Regions from separate parts of the Homo sapiens genome. Here all the other regions are linked to region 1. Evidence: promoter capture Hi-C in human tissues and cell types (Jung and others, 2019). All regions are on one chromosome and are shown on one strand. Each heading gives the region's core, a stretch centred on a gene start or on the middle of the fragment in contact. The rest is flanking DNA. Distances are from core to core; before and after follow the strand shown.

Region 1 (4,551 bases), core at 616-3,115:
GCAAGATTGGATTGGAGGCCAAAAGAAGGGTCTAACAGAGACGGGGTGAGGCATCCAGACCAGTGCGATCGCGATCGATCGCGACCCAGAGTTTTCAAGGTCCGTCCTAAGTACTAGGGGAGCAGCGATAACCCGGAGGTAAGATCACCAGCGCAAAGCATCCCTAACCTTCTCCTCCTCCTGCTGACACCCTCCCCTCAACTCTCTGCTTATGCCGGAAGCCATCCTTACACAACCTGGTGCAAACAACCTTGAAGCGGGACGCAGCCAAAGAACACGAGATGCCATTTCTCAGCCCAATTGGAAAGAGGCCGGGAGCACCAGTTCCCTGACCCCCTCAGCCCCACCGCCTGCCGCCCCCTGGTACTGACCAGCTCCTTCTTCCTCTTCTCCTCTTTCACGTCGGTCTTCTTGATCTCTGCCTTGAAGGCCTCCGCCTCGCCATTCTGGTCGTCCTTGGCCAGCAGGTCCATGAGGTAGGCGATGTAGCTGGTGGCCAGGCGCAGGGTCTTGATTTTGGAGAGTTTGGTGTCGGCGGGTACGTTGGGGATGCACTCGCGCAGTTCGGCGAAGGCGCTGTTGATGCTCTGAGTCCTGCGCCGCTCCTTGCGGTTGGCGGTGCCTCGGCGCTTCACCGGGCGCGGCCCCCCCAGGCCCGGGGGCCCGGCGCCCGGCGGCACCCCCCCGTAATGGGAGTGGTCCAGGCCGGCGGCGCCGCTGGCATACTCGGGGCTGTAGGACAGGGCCATGCTGTAGTCGGGGGGCGACATCTCGGGGTGGCCGATGAGCCAGCCATGGAAGTAGGGGTTCTCCTCATGGCTGCAGCGGCTGGCGGCGGCGGCGGCAGCTGCGGCGGCGGCGGCGGCAAACGGGTAGCCCTCGTGGTGCACCACCGGGTGGTGGGGAAAACCACCTACCAGACTCATTTCGCCCTCCGCGCCCCTCCACGCGCCCCAGCGTGCGCGCAGCCCCGCCGCGCCCTCGGCCCGGGCCCCTGCCTCAGCGCTCGGCGTCCTCCCCCACCCCCCACCCCCCAGCCCCCGGGCGCCCGGGCCCGCCCGGCAGCCGCAGAGGGGGCTGCTGCAGCCCGGGCCCCGTCCCCCCGCCTGGCCAGCCGGGCCCGCCTCAGCAGCGCTGCGGCCGCCGGCTCCCCATGGGGCGCGGCGAGCTGGTCCTGGCACCGTGCGCCCCTGGCCGCCGCCGCCGCCGCCTCCGGTTCCCGCCTTGCTCCACGGCCCGCGCTTCGGCTCCTGCTTCCCGGGCTGCTGCGCGGAGGCAGAATCCTCTCGTGCTCATACAAAGGTGCCGGGGCTCCCGCGAGGCTGGTACGCGGAGTCTCGGGAATCCAAGCCCGGGCCGCGGTCCTGGCACCGAAGCTAACCCGGAATCCAGGGGCGAGTCTGAGCCGCGGCTGGAGGAGCCGGTCCAGCTGTGCCGGGGGGCGGCGGGGTCGACTGCTCACTGCAAAGCTACCTCCGTGCGACCCTCCCCTTCCCGCCTCTTCCCCTCCCCCCACCAGCCCGATCTGGGTTCTTGGGCGCTTATTGTTTTAATGAAATTTTTGGTTGTTGTTGTTTTGGTCCTTAAATGTGATTTTAGCTGCGAGTAACGTGTCCTCGCTCCTCTCGCGCTCTCTCGGAGGGTTTTCAGAGAGGTCTCAGTGCATCCATTTTCTCAGATCCTCTCCTTTCGGGGCAAGGATCTGGGGCCCTGAATGAGCCTTGGAGCTCGAAGACCGCGGCTCGGGCTCTCGGAGGGCTCTGCGCGGTGGCCGAGGAAGCTCCGGGGTGACGGCGGTGGTTCTCCTGGGCTGGACGACGTGAGGGGAGCAAGCGGATTTTCCCAGCAAGATCTCCATGTACAGCTACATCTTTAGGGCCGCTCGGGTTAATATATGTCGTCAGAGGCTCCTCACGCCAATCCCGGGGCGGCAGGGGCGGCGCCTCGAGCTCTCGGCAATAAAACTTTTTGATGTTCACGTTGCTAATTGCCGAGGTCCTCTTCCAGGATTGGCTACCTCCTCATAACCATAAGATAATTAAAACTTGGCGGGGGGGGGGGGCAGGGTTAAAAAAACTTTTTTTATCAGTCAGAGGATAATGCAAGTGTTTAACAGATGCTTCACTATTAAAATATTTTCCCCCCAAGTCTCAAATATTGAAGAATCTCTAACCAGGTACAGTATCACTCTGCTCTCTTTTCTGGTTGAAAAGAAAGAAAGAAAGAAAACGCAGGTATTGCTTTTCGAAGTGCTTTGTAGGTAATCGAGGTAAGAAAATATACGCAGGCAGCCTCTTACAATTTTATGCAGGGGCGCCGGGAGCCTCGTGACGGGCGGTGGGGGCCCCCACAAAGGCGCGGCTGGGAGCTGGCGCTCTTTGCCCCAGCAGGGACGAGGAGCGGCTGGAGAAGGGTGTTTCTTTGACCCGTTTACAGGCTCGAAACGCCGGTCTCAGTGGCTATTGAGTTACCCACCAAGTTACCCCGGTTAGAGCTGTTTGGGGTGGCTCACGTTATTGCGGCAAACTTTGGAGATGACGGCTGAGTCCTCCGGGCGAACATGTCAAGCCGATTGTAAATGCTGTTATTTCCACATCCTTCAGGGACACCAGTCCCTACGAAGACCTTGGGCGATTTTGAAGTGCGGGCACCTCGATTCCCCGAATCTGTAGTGTGGCTGGTATCGGTGTTCCCCTGGTTTAACTAGCCTGTTTGGTAAGTAACTGAATATTTTTTACGGCGTGTTCAGAGCTTATTTTCCAGTTTTTATGAACAAACATATAAATATATCTCTGCATTCCTGCCTCCCTCATAAAAGCGGGCATCTGTGGAAAGCAGGTTTAGTTATCGGAGGGGAACCATTAAACGCCAGTTTAAGAGGCAGGCCGGGAGGACGGCTCGTGGATGTTGAGACTGCTGGCCTTGGTGATCTTGAACGCATTATAACGGAAAATGGATCTCCACTTGTAAGTCACCGGGCCGCGGGGCACCCGGGCCGCAGCGCCCGTGTGGCATGAGCTTCTTGAGAAGGCTCACGTGCGGCGAGGGCGGGTGGTAAATGGCAGGAGCTGAAATCACCCCAGGCTTGGCCCCAAGCCGAGAGGGGAGGCTGATGTGTATATGCAGATTCCACCCGAAGGAGTTCGGTGTGGAAAACGGTGTCAACAGGAGCCCGCGGGCTGTAAATTAGAGGGAGGCGAGGGCCTGCGGCGCCAGCGCGGGACAGGGCGGCCTGGGGCTCGCCGCTGGTCAGGCCAGGTTAGCCCAAGGGAGACCAAAGACTCCACCTTGAGCATCGCCCTTTGGAGGCGGGCAGAGTCCGGCCGCAGGCCACAAAGCGATCCCCACCCGAAGGACTCCACAAGGACAGTCCTTTCCTTGCTCACCGCCGACAAAGTGGTTGGGGCAGGAAGGCGAGGTCAGTGCGAATGGAGGGCGCCCAACTTCGGTGTTGCAGTTGACTCTGTGCTCGGGCTCTGCCCTCCACTAGCCCTAGAGTCTTGGGCAGCAGGATTGAGAAATATATATATTTCAGGTTTGCCGCGGCTGGGCGGTAGGAGACAGGGACTTAAAAGCCCAGGATTAGAGTCGGTGCAGGGCCCATTCTTTTTCTAGGAAAGGGGTTAACATCCTTGAACGTCCCCAGACAAGCGTCTTAAAGCATTGAACCTAGAATAGGGATTAACTGAAACTAGGCTCGTTGGTAAGCGCCAGGGGCTTGCAGTTGAGCTCGGAACAAAATAGTGACCTACTGCTCTAAACCCCCAACTTGCGTGGGTCTGCAATTTTTTAGCACAAGGAGAGCCTTTTAAAGACCTGGTTCTTCAAGGAAAGAATGCAGGTAGTGTGGTTGGGGGTTCTGTTTACATTTTCACCCGGAGGCAAACCCCGAATGTGTAAATACTGGTAGTTCAATTCTCTGACATTTGATACGTTTTTGAAAAGTCTGTTTATAAAAACACATTTAGGCCTTGGGAGCAGGTAGACAAAGTAAGATTGCACTGGGGCTGGGAACATATAAAAATTCAGGGAAATTAGTTGGTTGGCTGCTTTAAGACCCAAAGGGAGTTTTGGGAATTGAAGGGAGGAAGAAGAGTCCAGAGGAGGGCTGAGTTAGGGATTGAGATGCTCTGTCCACCAGAGACCAGCGGTGAGTGGCCTCACTTTTGAAAGCTTCAGAACTTGCCACATTTAGCTTTTCTCATGCTTTTAATTGAAACAAACAAACAAACAAAAATGAATGAATTACCTCGTGGCTCCAGATAGCATTGCAAGTGGTAAAGGAAATGGACAACATGGTACAGAAAAAAGAAATCATAAAAGATGCTAATCTGAACATCAGTTCTCACTCACAGTGTCATTATCAGTTAACTGCTGTGGTCCAAGGGCCTAAGACTTGATGTGGCTCAGAAACCCAAATCCAGAGGTCACTGCCTTAGAAAGCTGGCTTGATGAGAGGGGACAAATGGATGAACCCTAGTGGTGTCCCCAACTGTAGTAACTGACTCAGGGAGGCCAGGCTGGCCCTGACTGGTTGAGCTCTACCCTAAA
Region 2 (4,551 bases), core at 1,281-3,780, 250 kb after region 1:
GCAAGATCTGGGACTCAAGGGTTGTTGTTCAGATTCTTTTGTCCCACAGGGTGCTCCCTTGATGTGGTGCTGTCCCCCTTCCCCTAGGGATGGAGCTTACTGAGAGCTGAACTGCAGCGATTGTTATTCCCCTTCTCCGTGCAGCCACCCAGTGGAGCTACTGGGCTCCAGGCCGGTACTGGGGAATGTCTGCAAAGAGTCCTGTGATGTGATTCATCTTTAGCTCTCTCAGCTGTGGATACCAGCACCTGATCTAGTGAAGGCAGCAGGGGAATGAGGTGGACTCTGTGAGAGTCCTTGGTTATAGTTTTCTTTAGTTTGCCGGTTTTGGTTTTCTCAAATGCTGGTTGTGCTAGAAGTGAAGTTGTCATGTGGACAGACTCAGGACCTCTGGTTAGCCAGGATGTTACAGGTGGTGGAATTAGCTGTTGTTTTCTCCTTTCTTGGAGTAAGGTTGTTCTTTTATGAGTTGCTCTGATGGTTTGAGTTGGTTGGTCTCCAGCCAGGATGTGGTGCTTTCAAGAGAGCATTGGCTGTGGTGGTATAGGGGAGATACGAGCTTGCCCTAGGGTTGCCTGTATAAGTACTTGGGTTTCTCAGGAGGTGGGTGGGGCCGTAGAGTTCCCAGGGGATTATGTCCTTTGTCTTTGACTACCAGGGCAGATAAAGAAAAACCATCAGGTGGGGGCAGGGTTAGGTGGGTCTGAGCACAGAATGCCCTTGAGTGGGACTTGCTATGGCCACTGTGGTGGATGGGGGTGTGGTTGTCTGGTTAATGGAGTTATGTTCCCAGGGAGATTATGGTTGCCTCTCCTGTGTCAGGCAGTCATCAGGCAAGTGGGAGAAAAATAGCAGTGACAGGCCTCACTCAGCTCCCACATAGCCAGCAAGGACAATCTCACTCCTGCTGTGCTCCACCAACAGCCAACGGAGACAAGTTTATATCCAGGCCTCTGCTGTGCAGGGCTGAGATCCTGTCCGTTGCTATAAGCCTCCCCATTAAGAAAGCAAGCAGGGCTCTCAAGCCTCACCCTCCCCTGCCTGCCGTGGTGTCTGTGCTCATATCTGCACTTCCATTGCACCTCCTGACCCCCATCCCAAATTCTGCCCAGGAAAATTTGCACTCTGTCAAAATTATTACTAAGTTCAGCTGGACGTTTCTTTCTCTCTGTGACCTCTCCCTAATTCCACTAGCAACCCTCCTCAAGTACCCCTGTGAGATAAACTCAGAAATGGCTTCCCTGGGCCGCTTTGGGGACTGAGAGTGCCTACAGGGCTCTTCCCACTGCTTCTTCTACTTTTATATTTCACTCAGCTCTCTAAATTCATTTCAGCTCTAGGTAAGGTTAAATCCTTCTTCTGTGATCTGGATTTTCAGACTCCTAGGTGAGGATGTGTGTTTGGGGGCAGACTTCCTCCTCTTACACTTTGGGTACTCACAGTGTTTTGGCTGTCTCACAGAGTTTGCAGTGGCAAACTCCTTCTTTCAAAGTGTCTGCAAATTCTCTCAATTTTCCTGGTATGTTCCTGAGGTAGTTCTTGGAGCAAATGTTCACAGTGTGGTTCTCCACATGCCGTTCTGTCCATCTAAGTGGGAGTTGCAAGTTAGTCCTGCCTCCTGTCTGCTATTTTCCCCTCTAATCCAGAAACTGATTTTTTTTTAAACAAATTGAAGATCTATGACAGCTCTGCATCAAGCAAGCCTTTTGGTATCATTTTTCCAACAGTATCTCTGTGTCACATTTTGGTAACTTTTGCAATATTTAGAACTTTTTCATTGTTATTATATCTGCTATGGTGATCTGTGGTCAGTGATCCTTGATGTTACTATTATAATTGTTTTGGGGCTCCACAAACCATACCCATAGTAGACCACAAACTTAATAAATGTTGTATGTGATCTGACTGCTCTACTGACTAGCTGTCCCCCCATGTCTCTCCCTCTTCTCAGGCCTCCCTATTCCCTGATACACAGCAATATTAAAATTAGGCTAATTAATAACTCTATAAGGCCTGTGAGTGTTCAAGTGGAAGGAAACATTGCACATCTCTCACTTTAAATCAAAAGCCAGAAATGATTAAGCTAAGTGAGGAAGGCATGTCAAAAGCCAAGAATGGCTAAAAATTAGGCCTCTTGCACCAAATAACCAAGCTGCAAATGCAAAGGGAAACTTCTTGAAGGAAATTAGAAGTGCTAGTCCAGTGAACACATGAATGATAAGAACGTGGAACAACAACCTTATTGCTGATACAGAGAAAGTTTGAGTACAAAGCCTAATTCAGAGCAAAGCCTTAACTCTCTTCAGTTCTATGAAGACTGCAAGATGTGAGGAAGCTGCAGAAGAAAGATTTGAAGCTATTAGGGTTAGTTAATTAGGTTTAAGGAAAGACACCATCTCCATAACATAAAAGTGCAATGCGAAGCAGCAAGTGCTGATGGCGAATTTGTAGCAAGTTATCCAGATGTAGTTAAGATTGTTCATGAAGGTGGCTACACCAGAAAAATGGATTTTGATAGAAGCAAACTTCTGTTTAGAGAAGATGCCATTTAGGACTTTCACAGCTAAAGAGCAGTCAATGCCTTATGCCAAAGCTTCAAAGGACAGGCGAATTCTCTCGTGAGGGGCTAATGCAGATGGTGAATTTAAGTCAAAGCCAATGTTCATTTATTATTGCAAAAATCCTAGGATCCTTAAGAATTATGCTAAATTTACCCTGCCTGTGCTCTAGAAATGGAACAACAAGCCTGGATGATGGAACATCTGTTTACAGCTTGACTCACTAAATATTTTAAGCCCACTGTTGAGAACTACTGCTTAGAAAAAAGTATTCCTTTCCAAGTATTACTGCTTATTAACAATGCACCTGGTCACCCGGGAGCTCTGACGGAAATGTATAAGGAGATTAATGTTGTTTTTATGCCTTCTAACACAACATCCGTCCTGTAGCCCATGGATCAAGGAGTAATTGTGATTTTGAAGTCTTATTATTTAAGAAATACAGTTTATATTTGCTGTAGATAGTGATTCCTCTGATGGAACTGGGCAAAATAATTTGCAAACCTTCTGGAAAGGATTCACCATTCTAGATGTCATTAAAAATATTCCTGATTCATAGGAGGAGGTCAAAATATCAATATTAACAGGAGTTTGGAAGTTGATGCCAACTGTCATGATGACTTTGAGGGGTTCAAGACTTCAGTTGAGGAATTAACTATAGAAGTGGTGGAAATAGCAAGAGATCTAGAATTAGAAGTGGAGCCTGAAGATGTGACTGAATTGCTGCAATCTCCTGATAAAACTTGAATGGATGAGTAGTTGCTTCTCATGTATAAGGAAAAGAAATATGGATGAAGCTGGAAACCATCATTCTCAGCAAACTATCACAAGGACAAAAAACCAAACACCTCATGTTCTCACTCATAGGTGGGAATTGAACAATGAGAACACATGGACACAGGAAGGGGAACATCACACATCAGGGACTGTTGTGGGGTGGGGGGAGGGGGGAGGGATAGCATTAGGAGATATACCTAATGCTAAATGACGAGTTAATGGGTGCAGCATACCAACATGGCACATGTATACATATGTAACAAACCTGCACGTTGTGCGCATGTACCCTAAAACTTAAAGTATAACATTAATAAAATAAAAAAACTAAAAAAAAAGAAATAGTTTCTTACAATGAAATCTACTCCTAGTAAAGATGTTGTGAACATTGTTGAAATGACAACAAAGGATTTAGAATATTTCATAAATTTAGTTGATAAAGCAGTGACATGGTTTCAGAAGATTGATTTCAATTGTGAAAGAAATTCAAAGGGTAAAATGCTGTCAAGCAGCATTCCTTGCTACAGAGAAATCTTTCGTGAAAGAAGCATCAACTGATGTAACAAACTTCATTGTCTTGTCTTAAGAAATTGCCACAACCAACCCAACCTTCAGCAACCATTACCCTGAGCAGTCAGCAGCCATCAACATGGAGAAAGACCTTCAACCAGCGGAAAAATTATGACTTGCTCAAATGATTGTTAGCATTTTTTAGCAATAAAAGATTTTTTAAATGTTATGTACATTTTTTAGACGTAATGCTTTAGCAAACTTAATGGACTACAGTATGGTGTAAACCTAACTTTTACATTCACTGGGAAACCCAAAAATTCATGGGACTAATTTTATTGCAATATGTGCTTTATTTCAGCAGTCTGGAACCAAATGAACCCACAAAATCTGTATTCTGATGCCACTTGGCCTAGGGAATGCAACTGCTCAAGAGTAATGGATGAACAACTGGAATTGCAAAGGCTTCAACAGTAGTGTTTTGATAAATGCCTCAGACCTTAATGCTTATAAAAATTGGTGAACCCACAGTAGTCTCTGGAAGTGTCTTGAAGAAAAATGGTCGAAATATGTTTAGTCAGAAAGCCAATCTGTGAAAATATAATAGTTTCTGAAGTCTTAAGCAATTCATGACTGGCTAGGAGCAGACGTTCCAACATACCTCTTTCAGAGCCTGGGATGTTAAAATACCATTTAGATCCTTGAAGTA
Region 3 (4,551 bases), core at 561-3,060, 150 kb before region 1:
TAGCTTCAAAAGAATAATTTTGGGAAAGGCCTAAAAATTAATGCCTGAAATACATGTCTTTACAAAAAATAAATTCTATGTTTTTCTACATGAAGTCTTAAAATTAAGAAACATAATAAAATATACAATTAATCATTTTAAAGTATACAATATGGTGGTATTCAATGTATTTGCAATACTGTATAACCAGCAGCTCTAATTTCAAAACTTTCTTGTCACCCAACAAAAACAGCCATACATAGTCACTCCGCCTTCTTCCCTCTCCCTATTCCCTGGTAACCTCCATTCTGCTTTTTATCTCTATGGATTTGCCTATTCTGGATATATTATAAGGGAATCATACAATGAAGTACTGCAAATTGGATGAACCTTGAAAACATGCCAAAAAGCATAATGCTAAAAAAGCATGTTTTCAAGGTTCATCCAAGTTGCAGTACTTCCTTTTTCAGGCTGAATAGTATTCCATTGTATCTATTGAACACAGTTTATTTATCCATTTATTTGTTGATGAACATTGGGTTTCTACCTTTGGCTATTATGAATAATGCTGCTGTAAACATTCATGTACGAGTTTTTCTGTGAACATATGTTTTCATTTCTCTTGGGTGTATACCTAGCAGTAGAACTGCTGGTACGTAAATAATTCTGTACTTAACTTTTTGAGGAACTTCCAATCTTTTCCAAGTTGCTATACTCTTTTACATTTCTACCAGCAATGTATAAAGGCTTCTATTCAATTCACTAACACTTGTATTTCATTAAAAAAAAAATTAAAGCCATCCTACTGGGTGTGAAGTGGTATCTCATTGTGGATTTTATTTATATTTCCTTAATGATCAATTTTGTTGAATATCTTTTCATGTGCTCTTGGCCACTTATATATCTTCTTTGGAGAAGTGTTTATTCAAGTCCTTTTTATTCTTTTTTTTTAGTTGGGTTGTTTTTTGTTGTTGAAATGTAGGACTGTTTATTTATTGTGAGTATTAAACCCTTATAAGATACATGATTTGTAAATATTTTCTCTCATTCTGTAAGTTGCCTTTTCACAGTACTGATAATGTCCTTTGATGCACAAAAGTTTAAATTTTTACATAGTCCAATTTATCTATTTTTTCCTTTGTTGCTCATATTTTTGGTGTCAAAAGAATCCATTGCCAAAACCAACATCATAAACATTAATGTATATGTTTTCTAGGAGTTCTACAGTTTTAACTCCTAAATTTAGATTGTTGAACTGTTGTGAATCAATTTTTATACATGAATGAGGTAGGGGTCCAACTTCATTCTTTTGCATGTGATTAGCCACTTGTCCAGTGTGATTTGTTGAAGAAACTATTTTTTCCCAACTGAATAGTCTTGACCCTCTTGAAATCAGTTGGCCATAGATGTTTATTTCTGCACTCTCAATTCTATTCCATGATCTATGTATTTATTCTTATGCCAATACTATACTCTTGACTACTGTAGACTTGTAATAAGTTTTGAAATCAGGAAGTAGGAGTCCTTCTACTTTGTTTTTCTTTTTCAGTATTGTTTTGGCTGTTCAGAGCCCCTTGCTGTTCCATATGAATTTGAAGATTGGTTTTTTTCATTTTTTGCCCAAAAGGCTATTAGAATTTTGGTGGAGATTGCATTGAATCTATGGACCATTTTCAGATTGCCAGCTTAACAATATTAAGCATTCCAATCCATGATTGTGGGATATCTTTCCATTTTTTTAGGTCTTCTTTAATTTCTGCAGTGTTTTATAGTTTCCAGTGTACAAGTCTTTCACCTCTTGGTTAAATTTATGTTTATGTATTTTCTTCTTTTTGACACTATTATAATTGTTTTCTTAAATTCTTTTTTGAATCATTCATTAGAGGTGTGTGCTGATGCTGCCACTGTGCTGAATTGATCAGCTCTAGTAATTTTTTTTGTGTGTGTGTGGATTCCATGGGATTTTTCTATATATAGAATCATGTTATCTGCAAACAAAAATGGTTTTACTTCTTCCTTCCCAATTTGGATGCCTTTTATTTCTTTTCCTTGCCAAATTGCCCTGGCTACGATTTCCAGTACAATGTTAAACAGTAGTGGTGAAAGCAGGAATTGTTGTCTTGTTCCTTTTCTCAGGAGGAAAACTTTCAGTCTGACCATTCAGTGTGATGTTAGCTGTGGGTTTTCATAAATGTTCTTTGTCATGTTAAGGAAGTCCTCTTCTGTTGCTAATTTGCTAAATGTTTTTTTATCATGAAAGGGTGTTGAATTTAGTCAAATACTTTTAGTATTGAGATGATTTTTTTTTCCTTAGTAGTATTGAGATGACTTTTTTTTTTTTTAGTGTATATTACATTGACCTTCTTATGTTGAACCACCCTCGCATTTCTGGGATAAATCCCACTTGGTCATAGTGCATAATTTTTTTAATGTTCTGTGGGATTTGGCTTGTTAATATTTTGTTGACGGTGTTTGCATCTATACTCATAAGGGATATTGGTCTATATTTTTCTTATGGTATCTTTATCTGACTTTGGTATCAGGATAATGCTGGCCTCATAGAACGTGTTAGGAAGTATTCTTTCCTCTTCTATTTTTGGAGATTTTTGAGTAAGAATGATATTAATTCATCTTTAAATGTTTGACAGAACTTATGGGTGAACCTATATGGTCTAGGCTATTTCTTCGATGGAAGAGTTTTGACGGATTTAATCTTTTTACTTATATAGGTCTTTTTGTTATATATAGGTCTGTTGAGACTTTGTGTTTCTTTTAAGTTATTTTTGGTAAGTCATGGAATTTGTCTATTTCACCTAGATTATCTAACTTGTTGTCATACGAATTGTTCCTATAATTCTCTTATAATACTTTTAATTTCTGTAAGGTCAGCAGTAATATCCCTACCTTTATTTCTGATTCTACTTATTTATGTCTTCTCTCTTTTTTCTTAGTAGTCTAGCTAAGGATTTATCAATTTTGTTGGTATTTTCTTTGATCTCATGGATTATATTTTTTTCTCTATTTCATTTTTCTCTTTTCGGATCTTCATTATCTTCTGCTGGCTTTGGATTTAGTTTGCTCTTCTTTGTCTGTTTTCTTAATGTGTAAATTTAGGTTGATTTGATATTTTTCTTTTTTAATGCAGGCATTTACAGCTGTAAATTTTTCTCTGAATACAGTTTTTCCTGCATTTTGTAAGTTTTGGAATGTTTGTTTTTGTTTTCAGTCATCTTAAATTATTATCTAATTTCTCTAGTGATTTATTCTTTAAACCACTAAAGAAAATTCACAAATACCTGGAACTAAGCAATATACTTGTTGTGAAGCAATATACTTTTTGTGAACAAGTATATTGCTTAGTTCCAGGTGTTTGTGAATTTTCTAGTTTTCCTTCTGTATTGATTACTCATTTTATTGTGGTTCAAAAAGATAGTATGTATCACCTTAGTCTTTTTAAGCTTATAGATAATTGTTTTATGGAAGAACATATAGTCTATCCTGAAGAATGTCCCATGTGTACTTGAGAAGACTGTATTCTGCTATTGTTGAGTGGAATGTTCTGTACGTGTCTCTGGGGTCTAGTTGGTTTTGTAGTATTGTTCAAGCCTCCTACTTCCTTATTGGTTTTCTTTCTACTTGTCTATCAATTGTGGAAAGTGAGGCATTAAGGTCTCCAACTATTATTGTAGAACTGTATATTTCTCCCTTCAGTTTTCTAAAGGTTTGTTTTATATATTTTCTGGCTGTCATATGGTGCATATATGTTTATAATTGTTATATCTTTTTGATAAATTGAAACTTAACAACATAAAATGTCCATCTTTGCTCTTGTAACATGTTTTTACTTAACATCTAATTTGTCTGTTATTAGTATAGCCATCCCAGCTTTTTTTTGTTTATAATTTGCACATATTTACATAACGTTTTAATAGTAAAATGCAGATTATGATATCTAAGCAAGTGATGGTGGTTCAAAATAAATTTTTGTCATGTTATTGTTTATTCATTTAGTGGAGTTATTTTTAAAATGTCAAGCAAGGTTTTTCTTATAAGCTAAAATAATAGATGCAGGAAAGCTAATATTCAGAGGAAAATTTGCTGTTTTTATACTTATATGTATATTTTTAAGGGTTAATATTGCTTACTATAGAATTTATTCCTTTGTGATTATGAATTCCTTGCATTTCTTTCTAGCTAAGAGTTGATGCTTGCTGTACACTTGAGTTTATTGTGTGTATCTTGTCCTAGTTGCATTAATAGTCTACACAGTCAACTATAGTTCTCAAATAATAGTCATATTAATTGCTACCAGATTATTACATATATGAATATATATTTTATATATAGTATATATATGTATTTATGTATATATACTTTAATGATACTAAATGTAGATATCAAGTCAGCTTTTTATACATTATATCCAATGGACTTTTCATTTGACTTCTTAACCTCTGAAAATGTAGATCACATAAACTCTTGAAAATATACTATGGCTTTTAAAGTTCTTAGAATATATCAGGTAAGTATATTCTACACATTTTTCTCTAGATATACCACCATACAAAGATG

What was found. Contacts are between HindIII fragments. The study calls those that stand out against the background at their distance.
Region 2: a fragment that was not itself captured here is called in contact with the fragment with the promoter of HAND2 in region 1 in 2 of the 25 tissues and cell types used here (H1 embryonic stem cells and spleen).
Region 3: a fragment that was not itself captured here is called in contact with the fragment with the promoter of HAND2 in region 1 in 1 of the 25 tissues and cell types used here (H1 embryonic stem cells).

What each region holds. Positions count from the first base shown.
Region 1 is chr4:173,528,364-173,532,914 of GRCh38, forward strand. HAND2 (heart and neural crest derivatives expressed 2) reads right to left here and starts at 1,866. Exons shown (of 2, transcript NM_021973.3): 1 at 372-1,866. The coding sequence starts at 926. HAND2-AS1 (HAND2 antisense RNA 1) reads left to right here and starts at 2,008. Exons shown (of 5, transcript NR_136196.1): 1 at 2,008-2,176; 2 at 2,604-2,715. The HindIII fragment of the contact is 12,639 bases long and covers 1-4,551 here.
Region 2 is chr4:173,777,467-173,782,017 of GRCh38, forward strand. No RefSeq gene overlaps it. Among named protein-coding and RNA genes, the nearest start is that of LINC02269, 120 kb to the right of the region's middle. The HindIII fragment of the contact is 3,360 bases long and covers 851-4,210 here.
Region 3 is chr4:173,379,688-173,384,238 of GRCh38, forward strand. No RefSeq gene overlaps it. Among named protein-coding and RNA genes, the nearest start is that of SAP30, 11 kb to the left of the region's middle. The HindIII fragment of the contact is 4,980 bases long and covers 1-4,300 here.